Regions from separate parts of the Homo sapiens genome. Here all the other regions are linked to region 4. Evidence: promoter capture Hi-C in 16 types of primary human blood cells and fetal thymus (Javierre and others, 2016). All regions are on one chromosome and are shown on one strand. Each heading gives the region's core, a stretch centred on a gene start or on the middle of the fragment in contact. The rest is flanking DNA. Distances are from core to core; before and after follow the strand shown.

Region 1 (3,103 bases), core at 207-2,706, 380 kb before region 4:
ATAAATAAATAAATAAATAAATAAAGGATTTACCAGAGCATCCAAGAAATATTATTAAATACTTGATCCCGTGAAACCACTCCCCTATCTGTTAACGATTTTTAAAATTTTACAGATTTCGAAAATCTTCTTCTTTATCCTTGGACCTAACCTATCCACAGGGTCCCTAACCATGCTATGCAGTTCCCACCTCTACCAGAAGTGCTGGGAAAATCACCTAGGTTATCTAGCTTCCCTCAAAGTATTTTACACTGTTGTGAGATTTCCTTTAAGATTCAGGAGCTAAAGTTTATTTTCTTTCTGGTTTCCTGGCGGAGCAAAGGCCCTGCACGTGTGAACGGAAACAAAACCCACACAGACTCTAGGGATGCCAAATATTAACACTGTGGGTAGGGGCACCTTCCTTCTCGGCCGAATTCCCTTTCCCAGAGAGCCTCCAGAGGGATCAGTCAACGCCCACTGAGCCTGGATCAAAGGTCAAGCTTGCCTGGTCAAGAAGGATCCTGGATCAAGCTTGAACCCGTTTCCAGAAACAGGGGCGTCGGGGCAGCAGCAAGCATTTTTACCACGCGCCCTAATGAGGTGGTTGCACAACAGGCTTTGAGGATTCCGGTTTAACAGGTAAATACCAACAGAGGATGAGCCGAGGGAGATGGGATCTGCTCCACGGCATCGATGGCATTTCGAGAATGTCTGCGTCGCAGAGCAAACCCAAAGTTTTAGCACATTACTCAAGAGTTCACCAGAGGAAGATCGCCACGAATTGAAATGAACAAAGTGAGAAAATGGGTGCTGTGTAGTCAACGCATCCGCGATGAACTCAAGCTGGGCGGAAAAATTCTTTGAATACTCCGGCTTTGTTTTGTGCTAAGACGGCAGAAGCCCCGAATTTCGGAGTTGGAAGACGCGTTTCTCCGTGTTCTCCGGCCCGTTCTCGGACTTCAGGGCCGCCCGCCGCGCACTCAGTCCCGTAGTTCCCCGGGCTTCAGGCGCGGACATTCCGGGGGGCGGAAACCAGGGAGCCGCGGGGAGGCCGCGGTCCGGCCCGCGACGCCGGGGCCCGGAGAAGGGAGGCGAGAGGCCTCCCGGAGCTCGACGGAGGGAGGGGAGGGAACGAGGAGGCCGCGGGCCGGAGCGGGGAGCAGCCCCGAGCGGCGCCCGGCTCGGCCCCCACCCTGAGGCCCGGTCCCGCGTACCTTTGGCAAGGGCTACGGTGGAGTTTTCGGTGTCGATGGTGTAGAGGATGCCCTCGTAGCGGATCTCCGCCTTGGAGATGAGGCTGATCTTGCTGCCGATGTAAGGGGTGCCCCCGCTCATGGCGCCGCCGCCGCCGCTCCCAGCTGCTCGCAGAGAGGCAGATCCCACGCCACTGTCGCCCGCTCCGCACGCCCGCTCGCTCCGTCGGCGCCTACAGCAGCCGCTTCAGACCCAACATGGCGGCGGCGCCGGCTCCGCTACCCTCCCCCAGCCTCCCGCCCTCAAGCCGCGGCGCGGCGGCGGCGGCGGCGGCGGCAGCGGCGGCGGCGCGGGGCATGCTGGGAGGGCGAGGCCGCGCTCTCGCGAGACTTGGCCGGCTACTGGTGGCTCCCGGCTCATTCGTGGCCTCGGGAGTCCCGGCAGCGCTTGTTGGCCTGGACTACGGTGGTGGTCTTGGGGCCGCGTGAGAGGAACTTCGGGGACCGGCTGAGTGCCTCGTGGCACCCGCTTGCTGCGGGCTGGAGAGGAGGCGCGCGGCCTTCCTTTTGACTCAGGCCGTGGCCGCCTTGTCGTGGGTCCTGTGTCTTTGCCGACGCGGGGCCCTCGGCCTGGAGCGCTGCCCACCCGCCTCCGAGCTGTGGCGAGCCGCTGCTCATCCTTCTAAGACGCTGAACCTGCACCTCGTGGAGCTCCTACGGCTCCATTACCGCAGTCATCGCCCGGGGAGCTTCCCCCGAGGCTGCCCCTGGAGCTGGGGCTCTCACAAGGACTCAAGTGTTTCAGCCCCTTCCTGTCCCGCTCATTCAGCCGGTCTGAACCAGTTTCATGGCTTGCAACGCCATTGTAACTCACTAATCCCAATTATCAGTATGTAGCTTGGATCAATTCCGTGAACCAGGGTTTCTGTCGAATCTCAAACGTTAAGGGTCCAAAGCCATGCTCCCTGTTTCCCCTCTAACCTGCTCCTTCACCACCGTTCCCTATTTGATGTAAACGGTACCATTTTTACTCAGCTGCTCAGACTAAAAGCCGTGAGTCAGCCTTGCCCTGTCTTGCTTCCACATCTGTTCTGACTACACCTCTCCGTTATGTATACACAATATATCCTAAATCTGACTTCTCATCTCCATTCCTACACTTCTCCCACAAGCCACGATTACTCGGGCTGAATTATTGCAGTAGCCTTCTAAAAGTTGCCTCTGTGTCAACTCTTGCCCCCAGTACTTTATTCTCAATACAGCAGCCAGAGAGATCTTCTTAAAATCTAACTCAGGGCTGGGCGCAGTGGCTCACGCCTGTACTCCCAGTACTTTGGGGGCCCGAGGCGGGCGCATCACCGGTCAGGAGTTCGAGACCAGCCTGGCCAACATGGTGAAACCCCGTCTCTACTAAAAATATAAAAAAATTAGCCAGGCGTGGTGGCGCGCGCCTATAGTCTCAGCTACTTGGGAGGCTGAGGCAGGAGAATTGCTTGAACCCAGGAGGCGGAGGTTGTGGTGAGCCGAGATTGTGCCACTGCACTCCAGCCTGGGCGACAGAGCGAGACTCCGTCTCAAAAAAAAAAAAAAAAATCTAACTCAGATCATGTCCTTCCTCTACTCACTCTACTGATCCCATGTTACACAGAGAGAAAACCAGACTTTGGTGTCTAAGGATATACATGATTTAGCTTCTCGTTCTGTTCCAGTCGCGTCTAATTCAACCAGTACTTGAGCACTTTATTCCAGTCTCTGCTCAAGCATCACCTCCAGAGATGACGTCCCTGACAGCCTTGTTTAAAATAATACCACTCATCTCCTTAACTCAGCTTGTATTTTCTTTATAGCATGTATCTCTCTCAAGTATGTCTGTTTAATTATTTGTATGTATCTGTCTCCTTCACTAGAATGTAAACATTTTGAGATAG
Region 2 (3,087 bases), core at 288-2,787, 310 kb before region 4:
CTCCTGAGCTCAAGCAATGCCCCCACCTTAGTTTCCCAAATGCTGAGATTACAGGCATGAGCCACTGCACTTGGCCTTAGTTATTTTTCCATCCACTGGTGGTTTTTTTTTTTTTTCCTGAGTCGCTCTGGAATGCAGTGGCGTGATCCCGGCTCATGGCAGCCTCTGCCTCCTGGATGCCAGCAATTCTCATGCCTCCGCCTCCCAAAGTGCTGGAATTACAGGTGTGAGCCCACCATGCCTGGCCTCCACTATTTTTGATGTCACAATCTTATGGCTCTGGGGATGGTTTTTAGAAGCTTTGTAACTGTAATTTTTTTTTCTCAAATAACTTAAGAGTTCCTAAAAAGAGCACCTGCTTTATTTAAGAGGAATTATGCTTTATCTCATATTATTTGCAATCTAAGTATCTGAAATTCTTAGAGTCACCTACCCCACCACACGTGTGGACACACCTAGGGCAGTTAGAAGAACAGGTTGGGGCAGAGCAGGTTGGAGCCTTGGCACCCTTCAGTGTGCTAAGGTCACAGGTCAGGGACACGTTCAGATGCACCGTTTGGTATCATGTTGACGTTTGGTTTTATTCTAAATGGTTCATTCGTTTCTAGTATCTAATGAAGATAAACATCAGAACTCTGTAACTCTGCAATTCGTTCATTGGGAAAAGAAGTTCCTTCTGTAGGGTCTGTTCCCAGGGAGGGGGAGAGGGAAATACACCTGTGGCTGGTAAAGGTGACACTGGAGGAGTTGGGGTGTGGCCCCACCTTTACACACCTGGAGGGTGGAAAATGGTCTTTGTGAAGCCTTTCTGTGGTTCCAAGTGTGAATCTTCTGGAGGGGCAAATCAGTTTTTCCTCTTTGTGACTTCCTTGTTTTAAAAAGATTGTCCCTGGAGCCAGGCGTGGTGGCTCACGCCTGTAATCCCAGCACTTTGGAAGGCTAAGGTGGGCGGATCACCTGAGGTCAGGAGTTCACGACCAGCCTGGCCAACATGGTGAAACCCCATCTCTACTAAAAATACAAAAGTTATGCGAGTGTGGTGGTGCACAGCCTGTAATCCCAGCTGCTTGGGAGGCTGAGGCAGGAGAATCACGAACCTGGGAGGCGGAGGTTGCAGTGAGCAGAGATGGCGCCACTGCACTCCAGCCTGGGCGACAGAGCGAGACCCCATCTCAAAAAAAAAAAAAGATTGTCCCTTTTTTATTCTCAGGGAACACAGGTGAGAGAAGTTTAGGAGAACTCTTTGGTTCACAACACCTCTTTTTTTGTCCATCTTGTTTGGGCTTCATAAACAGCTCTTGTTAATTCAAGGGCCATGTTTTCCTTTCGCAGAGCCATTTTATGGGGATTGACTCTCAGTCGTGATGTATGATTTTATTCTGAAAGTATGACTCAGGATCAAGTGGTAAAAGTACCGAGTTTAAATGTGTTCACAAATATTTGGGCCGAGTGCGGTGGCTCACCCTGTAATCCCAGCACTTGGGAGGCTGAGGGCGGGCGGATCGCTTGAGTCCAGGCATTCGAGACCAGTCTGAGCAACATGGTGAGATCTTGTCTCTACAAAAAATAAAAAAAATTAGCAGGCATAGTGTTGTGCGCCTGTAGTCTCAGCTACTTGCAGGGCTGAGGCAGGAGGATCACTTGAGTCCAGGAGGTCAAGGCTGTAGTGAGCTGAAATTGTACCACTGCACTGGGCAGCAGAGCAAGACCGCGTCTTAAATTAAAAAAAAAAAAAATTGAAGCTAAATATATGTGTGGGTGTGGTATTAGACATTTTTTTTTGTCTTTATGTATAACTAACTGAATTCATGGCAGTTATTTGGTAGTCTTGGTTTATAGACTTTTTTTTTTTTTGAGATGGAGTCTTGCTCTGTCACCCAGCCTGGAGTGCGGTGGCACAATCTCTGCTCACTGAAACCTCTGCCTACCAGGTTCAAGCTATTCTCCTGCCTCAGCCTCCTGAGTAGATGGGATTACAGGTGCCCGCCACAACAAAAATTAGCCTGGCTAATTTTTTTTTTTGAGACAGAGTCTTGTTCTGTTGCCCAGGCTGCAGTGCAGTGGCGCGATCTTGGCTCACTGCAAGCTCAGCCTCCCGGGTTCAAGCCATTCTCCTGCCTCAGCCTCCTGAGTAGCTGAGACTATAGGCGCCGCCACCATGCCTGGCTAATTTTTGTATTTTTAGTAGAGATGGGGTTTCACCTTGTTAGCCGGGATGGTCTCCATCTCCTGACCTCATGATCCGCCCGCCTCGGCCTCCCAAAGTGCTAGGATTACAGGCGTGAGCCACCGTGCCCATCCTAGCCTGGCTAATTTTTGTATTTTTAGTAGAGACGGGATTTCACCATGTTGGCCAGGCTGGTCTTGAACTCCTGACCTCAATTGATCCGCCCACCTTGGCCTCTCAAAGTGTTAGAATTACAGGCATGAGCCACCACACTCAGCCAGTTCATAGACCTTTGAAATTAAGGCTTTTAAACATTTGTTCTTCAAACATTTACTGGGTGGGTGTTATATGCTGGGCAATATAGGCGTTGGTGTAGGAAGATGTGAATTCAAGTCCTAATTCTGTCATTTGCCAGCTGTTATGTCTTTGGGAAAATCACTTAGCTTCTTTGAGTTGCAGTATATAAACTAGTTTTCATAATGCATAACTTGTGTGGTGGTTATGAGGGTTAAGTACAAAGTATGGCACTACGTATAAAACAGTGCTTGATTTTTAGTAGGCACTTAATAAATGCTAGTTTTTTCTTACCATGAAGGATTCCAAGCTTTAAAAATTACTCTTTTTTCTTTTCTTTTTTTTATACAGGGTCTTGCTCTGTCACTTAGGCTGGAGTGCAGTGGTAGGATCATAGCTCACTGCAGCCTCGACCTCCTGGGCTCAAGCTATCCTCCCACCTCAGCCTCCTGAGTAGTGGGGACCACAAGTCCGCACCACCATGCCCATCTAATTCTTTTTAATTTTTTGTAGAGACAGGGTCTTGCCATGTTGCCTAGCCTGTTTTCAAACTCCTGGGCTCAAGTGTTCCTCCTACCTTGGCCTCCCAAAGTGTTGGGATTATAGGTGTGAGCCACTGAGCCCGG
Region 3 (3,051 bases), core at 192-2,691, 290 kb before region 4:
TAGTTGACACTGAAGGAGCCTTGCAAAAGCGTTAAGGGCGCTTTGTCATACTCTGTGAACTGTTTCAGCCCTGGAGCCTGTCTGTGTGGCCTTCCATAGTGTTATACTTCATATGATTTTAGAGTGACAGTAATGGGAATGGAACTGCCAGATGGAAGGCTGACTGCATGTCAGAGGCTAGGCCAGATGCATTCTATTCATCCTCACTACTCATTTTCCTAAGGACAAGTGTATCTCCTCATTTTATAGATGGTGAAACTGAGGCTTAAAGAAGCCCAAGATAACACATCTCGTAAGTGGTGGAGGCTACAGTCAATCCTGGTAATTTAACATAAAAGATCATGTTCCTATCCACGTTATGAAATCACATTTCTGTGATGCCCGTATCTCCTTTAGAGCTTGTTAAAGTCATCCTTTAAAAATGTCTATTGGCATCAAGGGTGATTTTTTTTTCTTGAGATGGAGTCTCGCTTTGTTGCCCAGACTGGAGTGCAGTGGCACAACTTCAGCTCACTGCAACCTCTGCCTCCTGGGTTTAAGTGGTTCTCCTGCCTTAGCCACCTGAGTAGCTGGGATTATAGGCACCCGCCACCATGCCCAGCTAATTATTGTATTTTTAGTAGAGACATGGTTTTGCCTGGCTGGCCTGACTGGTCTCGAACTCTTGACCTCAGGTGATCCATCGCCTCAGCCTCCCCAAGTGCTGGGATTACAGGCGTGAGCCACTGCGCCCGGCCCAGTGACAATTACTTAATACAGTATTTCTTTTGTTAAATAATTTTTAATTTTAAGGATTTTAAGGATTCCCCAAACAGAGAGATACACTTTTTTTTTGTTTGTTTGGTAATTGGAGGTTGTGCACAGGGAGAGGATAGATTCTTGCATTCATTTTAGTTCACAATAGAATCCATCAGTTGGCGGGAATTGTTAATTCTCCCTTGGGGGAAATCAAGTGCCTGAGGCAGTGATTGATAAATCAATAAATCTTTAGTGGGTCTGGTAAATCAAGTGTCACACGTATGTCAACCTTTTCTCCAGATTATAGATTTTACCCAGGACAAGTGTGTTTCTTCCTTTCCATCATTTTCTCCTTCAAAATTGCAACATACTAAGGTATTTAAACAAATCCTTAAGATTGTAAGCTTTTTTTCTTCTTTTTCCATTTTTAAAAGATAGCATAAGGGATCATGCTTTTCTCAGCTATTTTAGGGCAAGAACTCAGTTGTTTGCATATTTGCATTTCAACCCCTAACCTCTCCTGAGGACAAATGGCTGTCTGACGATGAAGCCCACAGGCACAGCGCCGGGACTGTGGATTAAGCCTCTGAATGCTGACTAGTTTTCAGCAGCATTCCCAGCGTGTGTGAAGAATGTGTTTGTAGCTGGGAGGCAAACAGAACATCCAAAGCCGAGCAAGAATTTTGAAAAATAGTTGTCTTATGTATAAATGTATTTTTGCTCTTAGTGTTTTCTTCTTGCCGATTTCATTATTCCAGATTTCTGCTTTCTTTTAAAATAGCTCCATTGTGTTTGATATTCTCATAATATTCTCTCAAGTTTTGGTCACTTGATTTTTTCAAAATGTTCTTCTTTTTTTTTTTTCTTTATCATTTAAACACCCAGCCATGGATGGCTGGCTTAGATATTTCTCCCCGCTGGTAGGGAAGACCTGGTGACTTCCACACAAGACGCCTGTAAGGCCTTTGCTCTTCACAAATCAGGGCCCAGTTGGAAGCTTTGGCAGGTACTGAGGGCGACAGCTTAGGTTTTTAGCTCTTATAATAGGAACAGCAAGGCTTAGGGCTGTGGATTTATTTCTCTTAACAGTTTAAGTTATCATTGTGCCTGCTTTTAGGGCCAAAGAAATGAATTCTCTTAACCGGCTCTTTATTCTTTAGTGAAGAAACATATATTGTAGAAGTGTGAGTTCTGCTTGGGTAGAAAAACCAAACTAATTTGATGAATTGGCACATTGGCTTAAAGGGTCCCCAATAGTAATCTGTTGAGAATCTGCTTTTTCCAAACTGTCAGTGTTGGGAAGGCATGGCACGACCCAATGTGAAGTAAAATCTGGTTCCTGTTCTCAGGAGCTCAAGGAACAAATGTAGAATAAAGAGAATGCCAGAAAACTTATCAGTGAAAGCATCTAGTTTGAGAAATTGTGGACCAGGGAGCATTGAAGGTGGAGCCTTAAAAGATTGGTATCATTGGCCAGGTGCAGTGGCTCACCCCTGTAATCCCGGCACTTTGGGAGGCTGAGGCGGGCCAATCACCTGAGGTCAGGAGTTCGAGACCAGCCTGGCCAACGTGGTGAAACCCTGTCTCTACTAAAAATGCAAAAATTAGCTGGGTGTGATGGTGGGCGCCTGTAATCCCAGGTACTTGGGAGGTTGAGGTAGGAGAATTACTTGCACCCAAGAGACAGAGGTTGCAGTGAGCCAAGATCATGCCACTGCACTCCAGCCTGGGTGACAGAGTGAGACTCTGTCTCAAAAAAAAAAAAAAAAATTGGTGACATTTTAACAATGCAGCTATATTTGTCATGGCTGTAAAGGAGTGTCTGTGTGAGTTTATGCGTGTCTGTCTGTCTGTCTTTGTCTGTCCATGTCCTTTGGGGAATAATTTGCTATTCACTTCATCTGGCACAAGTGTATGGGAGCAATGAGACATGATTTTCTAAAACAAATTTAAATTTAAGACTCATAACTCATCAGGTCTTTAGGAGAATGGCAATGTATATTTTCCCTTTACATGCAGTAAAATTAGATCCTTGTCTGTAGGGATGATGATTAAATTTATTATAAAGTTAATGTCAAATCCATTGTTAGCTATTTTGTAAGTTGAAATGTGACTGACACATAATGAGCTCTGTGTTGTAATTCTTAAAAATAGTTACAATAATACTGCCCTTGAGGTCAGTGTCTTGCTGTAGTTAAATTCATTACACAGCCTGTAGTTTTTAAATTTCTTTATTAATTATTTGCCTGTACTTTTAAATTGGGAATTGATCACCTATTCTAGGCCAAACATCAGGATTAGCAGCAAGTGATC
Region 4 (2,728 bases), core at 4-2,503:
ACCTGGTGCGCGCCAGCCTCCCCACCCCCCCCCTCCCGCCTCCGCCGCGGAGCCAGCCGGCCGGTGTGAACTTAGGGGCGACGGGAGAGGGCTTGGGCCAAGGCTGGAGGCGCCGCGGGGCGGGGTGGCCGCGGCACCCGAAGCGCGGGGCTGGGCTGGGAGGGGTTGCCGCGGAGGCGGGGCGGGGACAAAGTTAAATCAAGAGGCAGACACTTGGAGACCACAGATGGGAAGCTCGCCTAATTAAGGACGTAAAAGCGCTTTTGTTCTCAAAGTTTATTGTTGCCGGGATTAAAAAAAAATTAATTGAAACTAATGCTGTTATTCACTCGTGCAGTTAAATTCCTTCATGCACATTTGAGATACGGAGCGAAAACTTGAAGCTTATCTTTCTGCAGTCGCGGGTGGGGGCCGCCGGAAGACAGAAAGGCGCTGCAGAGGCGGGGGTCCGCCCCCGGGTGTGTTTGCGAGTGTGTGCCGGGTGCGCGCGTCCAGGTCAGGGGGTGCGGGCGGGCAGCGGGGAACCGGATCTGCAGGCGGCGATCCCTCCCATCGCGGCCCCTCTCCCAGCCCCAAACCCTGCGCGCCCGGGACCACCACCAGCGCGACAGCCCCTCCTGCCAGGTTTCGGACTCGTGGGGTGGGCGTCAGAGGACGCACATCTGTCCCACTGGAGACTTTCTCTGATTTTGGGCGCCAAGCCGGGACTTGTGCATCCCGAAGCCCCAGTTGCGTGAGCCCGTTTCTGACCCCGGAAACTCGCCAGCTCTGCAGGGCGCTCGGCCCAGAACAGGGGCCAGAGTGCGGGGACCTCCACAAGCGCGCGCGCGCGCGCGCGCACACACACACACACACACACACACACACACACACACCGCGCGGCAGGAAGCTCCGAGACCGCCCGCGTGGGGAGGGTCCACCCGCGGCCAGGACCAGCCCACGTGGGCAACCCCACTCTTGCACCAGGCCTTTGTGCTGGGCACCCCCGCGCCGCCAGCCCCCGCCGCCCAGCAGAGGGACAAAGCGGCCGCCCCCGCCCAGGTCCAGACCCTGGCCGGGCGACTTTCTCGGTATCGCAGCCACTTCGGGGCAGGGTTGCGCGGCTCTGAGCGGTGGCCGCCCGCGCTGAGCTTACCTCGGAGCCGGCAGATCGGGCTCGGGCGCAGCCCCCGCCCCACGCAGCTGCCGGTCTCGGGCGCCGGGCGCAGCTTCGCCGCCTATGCTCGCTGCGCGGGTCGCTCCGGTCTCGTCCTGGAGTTACTTTCTCTCTCGCCCCCAACCCTCCCCCCACCCACCCCTCCCGCCCCGGCCCCCGCTTCACGCGGCCCCTCGCGGCGCGGCGCGCCGGGGCCTCCCCTCCCCACCCTCCCCTCGCCTCCTCCCCTCTTCGCGGCCGCCGCCTCCGCCGCCGCCGCCTCCTCCTCGCGCCGCTCTCCGGCTGCCCTCCCGCCGCTCCCACCTCCTCTCCTCCCTCCTCTCTCTCCGGCGGCCTCCCTCGATTGCTGGAGAGAAAACCAGCCCCCCACTCCAGCCCCTAGCCAGCGCCTCGCCGCGGCCCAGCCCGGACGTAAAGGGCAGCGATCCGGCCCCAAATTACCCAGCGCGAACGGGCGCGCGCGGCGACTCCTGGCTCGGGGCTCGGCTGCGCCGCGGGGCAGAGGATTAGAGTCGCAATTAGCTCCGCGCGCCCGCGCCTGGCGACAAAAACGCGCCGTTTCCCCTCCTTTCGCCGGGCGATCCCCACCCGCCTCTCCCGAAGCCCGCGCCTTCCCGCCGGGGCCGCGGCCAGGACCCTCCCGGGAGCGGTGCGCCCAGGCCCCAGCGCCCTCCGCGGCCCAGCCCCCCGCCCCCCGCCGGCCGGCCACGCGGCGCCCGGGCCTCCTCCGGGCTCGGGGAGGGGGCGGGGGAGAGGCTGATTTTAATCATTGTCATTTCATCTGATGTAATATTTCCCCGGGCGCTTTCAGCTGGGCATAAATTTTCGGCTCCCAAATAAGTAACACAGGGCACGTTTCTCACATTTCTTGACTCCTCGGTTACAAAGAGGAGAGCAGCCGCCGCCGCGGCGCCCGGGGCTGGGGGCGGGACTTGGGAAGAAACTGGGCTGCCAGTCGGTCGGGGCTGGAGCGGAGCCGGGGGCCAGGCCGCCCCTCCCCCGCTCCCTGGCCGCCCTCCCAGGGTCTCTGCCCCGCTGCCCCTCTCCCGTGACGTCTGCGGACACGCGGTCGGCCGCCGCGGGGGAGGGACGCGCTGGGGCACCGGGCCGACCGCTCGCGGCTAGACGCGCCATTTCCTTTACGCGCGCGGCGCGATGGAGACGGCGGCAGCCAAGACTCCCCGCGGCCGAGGTCCGCGCCCCGGACGCCCCTCCCCAGTCTCCGCTTCGGCCGCCCCTTCCTCCTTTTCTCCCACTCCCACTCCTCCTCCCCTTCCTCTTCCTCCTGTTTCCTTTGCGCCCCGCCCGTGCCTCCTCCTCCTCCTCGGCGACCATTTCCCGGCTCCTAGGAAACGGAGCGCGCGACTGGCCGGCACTGCGCCCCCGCCTGGCTCCAGGGACGCCCGGGCCGGAGACCGGCTGGGACCGCGGGGCGGGTGCGCACGGGCCGGAACGGCGCCTGGGTCCCGACCGCCGGCTCCGGCCGGGCCTGGACGCCCCCTAGCGGCCGCACTCCCGGGGTGGGGGGCGCTCGGGGTCGGCCTGGAGCTGGGGTGAGGGGGACTCGGGGTG
Region 5 (3,010 bases), core at 45-2,544, 380 kb after region 4:
TGAGGAGGGATCCCCATTCTCCAGCCTCCCTCCAGGCCTCTGAACAGTGACCACGATGGCTAGGTCACTGTACACAGAGCTCCTTGGGTACCAGGCACCATTGTGTATACTCCATGTATGTTAAATCATTCGACTGGCATAGCAGCCCTGGGAGGGAGGCACCGCTATCATCCCCATTTTACAGATGAGGAAACTGAGGCACGGAGAGGCCATTCAGCTGGCCAGCAGCAGAGCCAAGATTTGCCCTTGAGGTTGGTGTTGAGTCCCAGAAGGCTGGGTATGTGGGGCCCAGAGCAGGGAGCCCAGCACAGGGACCGGGGTGCGGAACACACCCTCCCCACCTCAGGTTTGTAACCCCATGTCCCAACTACCTGCTTTCCTAAGCCCTCTGCCCAGCTGAGGGGGCTCCACCAGCTCTGCGCATTTTCACTCCCAAGCTTCTGTTTCCGGCCCAGCCTCCCCTCTCCACCTCTTGAGTACCTGAGATCCATTGAGGCCCAGCCGGGGAAAGGGAATGATGTGGCCAGGGCCACCCCTTACACTGCCTCACTAACCTCTTCGGCGCTACCCCACCCATGCTCGAGGCACATAGCTTGGCCGACACTTGCTGCCAGGCAGCCCTTCTACCGCTGTCTGGGCAGCTGCAGCATTTTTATAGGACTGTGACTCGTCTTCATGTTAGGTGATAAACTTCTGAGGGCAGGAGCTGGGCCGTGTGCCCGGGAGCGCTCCACGGGCTGGATTTGTGGGTCCCAGTGGGAGGCCCAGCGACGCCGTCTCTGGGGACCCCATTCCTGCAGATCTGGGTCTGGGAACTTGCTGCTCCTGCCCCATTTGTCATCTCCTGGCACTGACAGATGTGCCTGCCCCACTGACACTGCAGTAACTCCATCCACCTCGTTATTCACCACTCATGCAGTTCCCCCAGGTTGCTTAAGGGCTCTCTCACTTATGCCTGGATACAAGCCTCTTCTACCCGAGTCTTGCCTGGGAGAAATTTATAGGTGAGGGTGTTAGAGGAATGGCCACATAAGGAAAAACAACGGGGCCCACACAGCAGCCGGGATGTCGTTGGCTGGGACTTAGGCAGACCACGGCCTCCTCTCAGCCAATCAGGAAGCCCCTCCCTGCTGCTGGGGAGGAGGTGCGCGCTGGGCTTGAGCCTGGCTGGGGTGTGTGTACCACCCCATCCGCCTTCCAGGTGAGCAGGAGGGAGCAGGGGCTGTTAGACCCAGCTGGTCCGGGGCTGCACGATGTGAGTCATAAATTTATGGAAGGAGCCTATGGAGATGGTCGCAGTGGGGCGGTGACACTCCTGCCTGTCTTGCTGGCTGCTGCCCTCTGCTGGAGAGCCTGTTCCAGGTGTTAATTATTTTGGGTGGGTAGTAGCTAGCCTGCTCCAGGGATGACTTGGCTGGACCCCTCCTGCCTCGCACTTGGAGGAGTTGTGATGCTGCCACTGCCATGGCATGTCGGTCATCCACGGGACAGGCTGTTAGCCTGTCCTCATAGCCCACACTTGCTCCTGGTCATCCCAGCACCACTCGCCAAGCTCTGGCCCAGCTGTGCGGGGGCACACGTTGCGTCCGCATCAAGCATGGGCCCCAGTTTGGAATGTCCACCCCTCAGTGCTCACCGCTTGAAGATCAGAACTGTGCCGCGCCGGGCTCACACGCTTCCACAGGCCCCCTGTGCCGCCACAGCTGCCCAGAACTTGGGTGCCCTTGTGCGTCCACACCCCAAGCCTAAAGTCTGCAGAAAACGTGGGCTCGTTTTGCCCACCTGTTATTGCCACCAAAGCACCAGTGTGTCCTCAAGTTGCGTCAGAAAAGGTCATTTAAAACAAAATTCAGGACTGAAGTCCACTGTGAAGCATTTCAGCTTTTTTTAGGCGGGCGTGAATATCCAGCACGTGGTGCTCCTCCTCTTTTCAACTCCTTCCTATGGAACAGTGTGTGGAGTTGTCAACGTGGCCGGCAAAGGTGACCAGTGTCGGGCTGCACTTTGCAGGTGAAAACTGGGTCAGCCTTTCTTTAGTTTGATGCTTCTGTGAGCTGTGCCTTCTTGAAGGCACTATTTTTTTCTTAAAAAGCAGCAAAGGCATTCAAAGACAGTTGTCTCCACTGAGTGGGTTATGCAGGGGGAAGCTTGCTGCAGGCGAGAGAGCCAAGTTTCCTCACTGCCTCCCCTTTCTGATGTTTTTTTCTTGTATTGATTGATTGATTGATTTTTTGAGAGCTGGGGTCTTGCTGTGTTGCCCAGGCTGGTCTTGAACTCCCGGCCTCAAGCAGTCCTCCAACCTTGGCCTCCCAAAGTGCTGGGATGACAAGTGTGAGCCACTGCGCCCGGCCTGCCGCTCCTTTCTTGTAGAATATGTGAGTTCCTCTGCACATGCGGATGGCATCTCTGTCCCTCTGCCTGTCTTTTCTGAAGCCGGCCAGTCCCAGCGCAGCCCGTGGTTGTCTGCAGGTCACTTGTCCCACAGAGGTCCGCTGTCGCCATCACGTCGAGAATGACCATGTGACCTCTGAGGTTCGCTTCTGTTGGTGCAGGACCACATCTCACAAAGCCAAGGGAGCACCCCTGTTCCACGGCGTGGGTCAGGCCTCTTCTCGGGCTTTCTGGGAGGGCGCCACAGAGGTGTGAAGTGGCTTCTGAGGCTGCCTGTCTGGCCTGGCGCACAGGGCTTGCCATGTGGGGCACTGCCCTTGCCTGCCTTGGTAGGAACGTGCCTGGACTGTGGCGAAACTCAGCGCTGAGACTCCCAGGAGCGAGGTGGAAGCGGCCTCCTGAGCGCTTGCACCACGAATACGGGGGCGGCTGAGGAGAGGAGCATGTGGCTTTCTTGCTTCCCTGGCAGCTCCTGAAATCCTTTCTTTTCAGGAAATATTTCACTCGCAGATACCCAATTATCCTGTGAGGTTTGGAAGGCAAGTCTGAAAGCCCATTGAATCTACCACAGCCGTTCCTGCATAACAACTGCTTAATATCCAATCATGACAATTATACA

The links. The method cuts DNA at HindIII sites, captures the fragments that hold promoters and counts their contacts. A CHiCAGO score of 5 or more calls a contact.
Region 1: a contact is called between the fragment with the promoter of LSM14A here and the fragment with the promoter of KCTD15 in region 4, in 4 of 17 cell types (erythroblasts, endothelial precursors, monocytes and 1 more). The highest score is 8.8, in erythroblasts.
Region 2: a contact is called between a fragment that was not itself captured here and the fragment with the promoter of KCTD15 in region 4, in 8 of 17 cell types (naive B cells, total B cells, megakaryocytes and 5 more). The highest score is 8.2, in naive B cells.
Region 3: a fragment that was not itself captured here is called in contact with the fragment with the promoter of KCTD15 in region 4 in 1 of 17 cell types (endothelial precursors); the score reaches 5.1 in endothelial precursors.
Region 5: a fragment that was not itself captured here is called in contact with the fragment with the promoter of KCTD15 in region 4 in 3 of 17 cell types (megakaryocytes, endothelial precursors and naive CD4 T cells); the score reaches 6.8 in megakaryocytes.

The regions. Positions count from the first base shown.
Region 1 is chr19:34,170,857-34,173,959 of GRCh38, reverse strand. It overlaps LSM14A (LSM14A mRNA processing body assembly factor), which reads right to left and starts at 1,456. Exons shown (of 10, transcript NM_015578.4): 1 at 1,197-1,456. The coding sequence starts at 1,317. The HindIII fragment of the contact is 4,496 bases long and covers 516-3,103 here.
Region 2 is chr19:34,105,582-34,108,668 of GRCh38, reverse strand. No RefSeq gene overlaps it. Among named protein-coding and RNA genes, the nearest start is that of LSM14A, 65 kb to the left of the region's middle. The HindIII fragment of the contact is 2,472 bases long and covers 302-2,773 here.
Region 3 is chr19:34,081,142-34,084,192 of GRCh38, reverse strand. No RefSeq gene overlaps it. Among named protein-coding and RNA genes, the nearest start is that of LSM14A, 90 kb to the left of the region's middle. The HindIII fragment of the contact is 593 bases long and covers 1,145-1,737 here.
Region 4 is chr19:33,795,395-33,798,122 of GRCh38, reverse strand. KCTD15 (potassium channel tetramerization domain containing 15) reads right to left here and starts at 1,253. Exons shown (of 7, transcript NM_001129994.2): 1 at 1,136-1,253. RefSeq lists a silencer at 2,555-2,674. The HindIII fragment of the contact is 5,196 bases long and covers 386-2,728 here.
Region 5 is chr19:33,414,731-33,417,740 of GRCh38, reverse strand. The region is part of intron 9 of PEPD (peptidase D); the gene reads left to right. Among named protein-coding and RNA genes, the nearest start is that of CEBPG, 43 kb to the right of the region's middle. RefSeq lists an enhancer at 1,257-1,406. The HindIII fragment of the contact is 1,710 bases long and covers 440-2,149 here.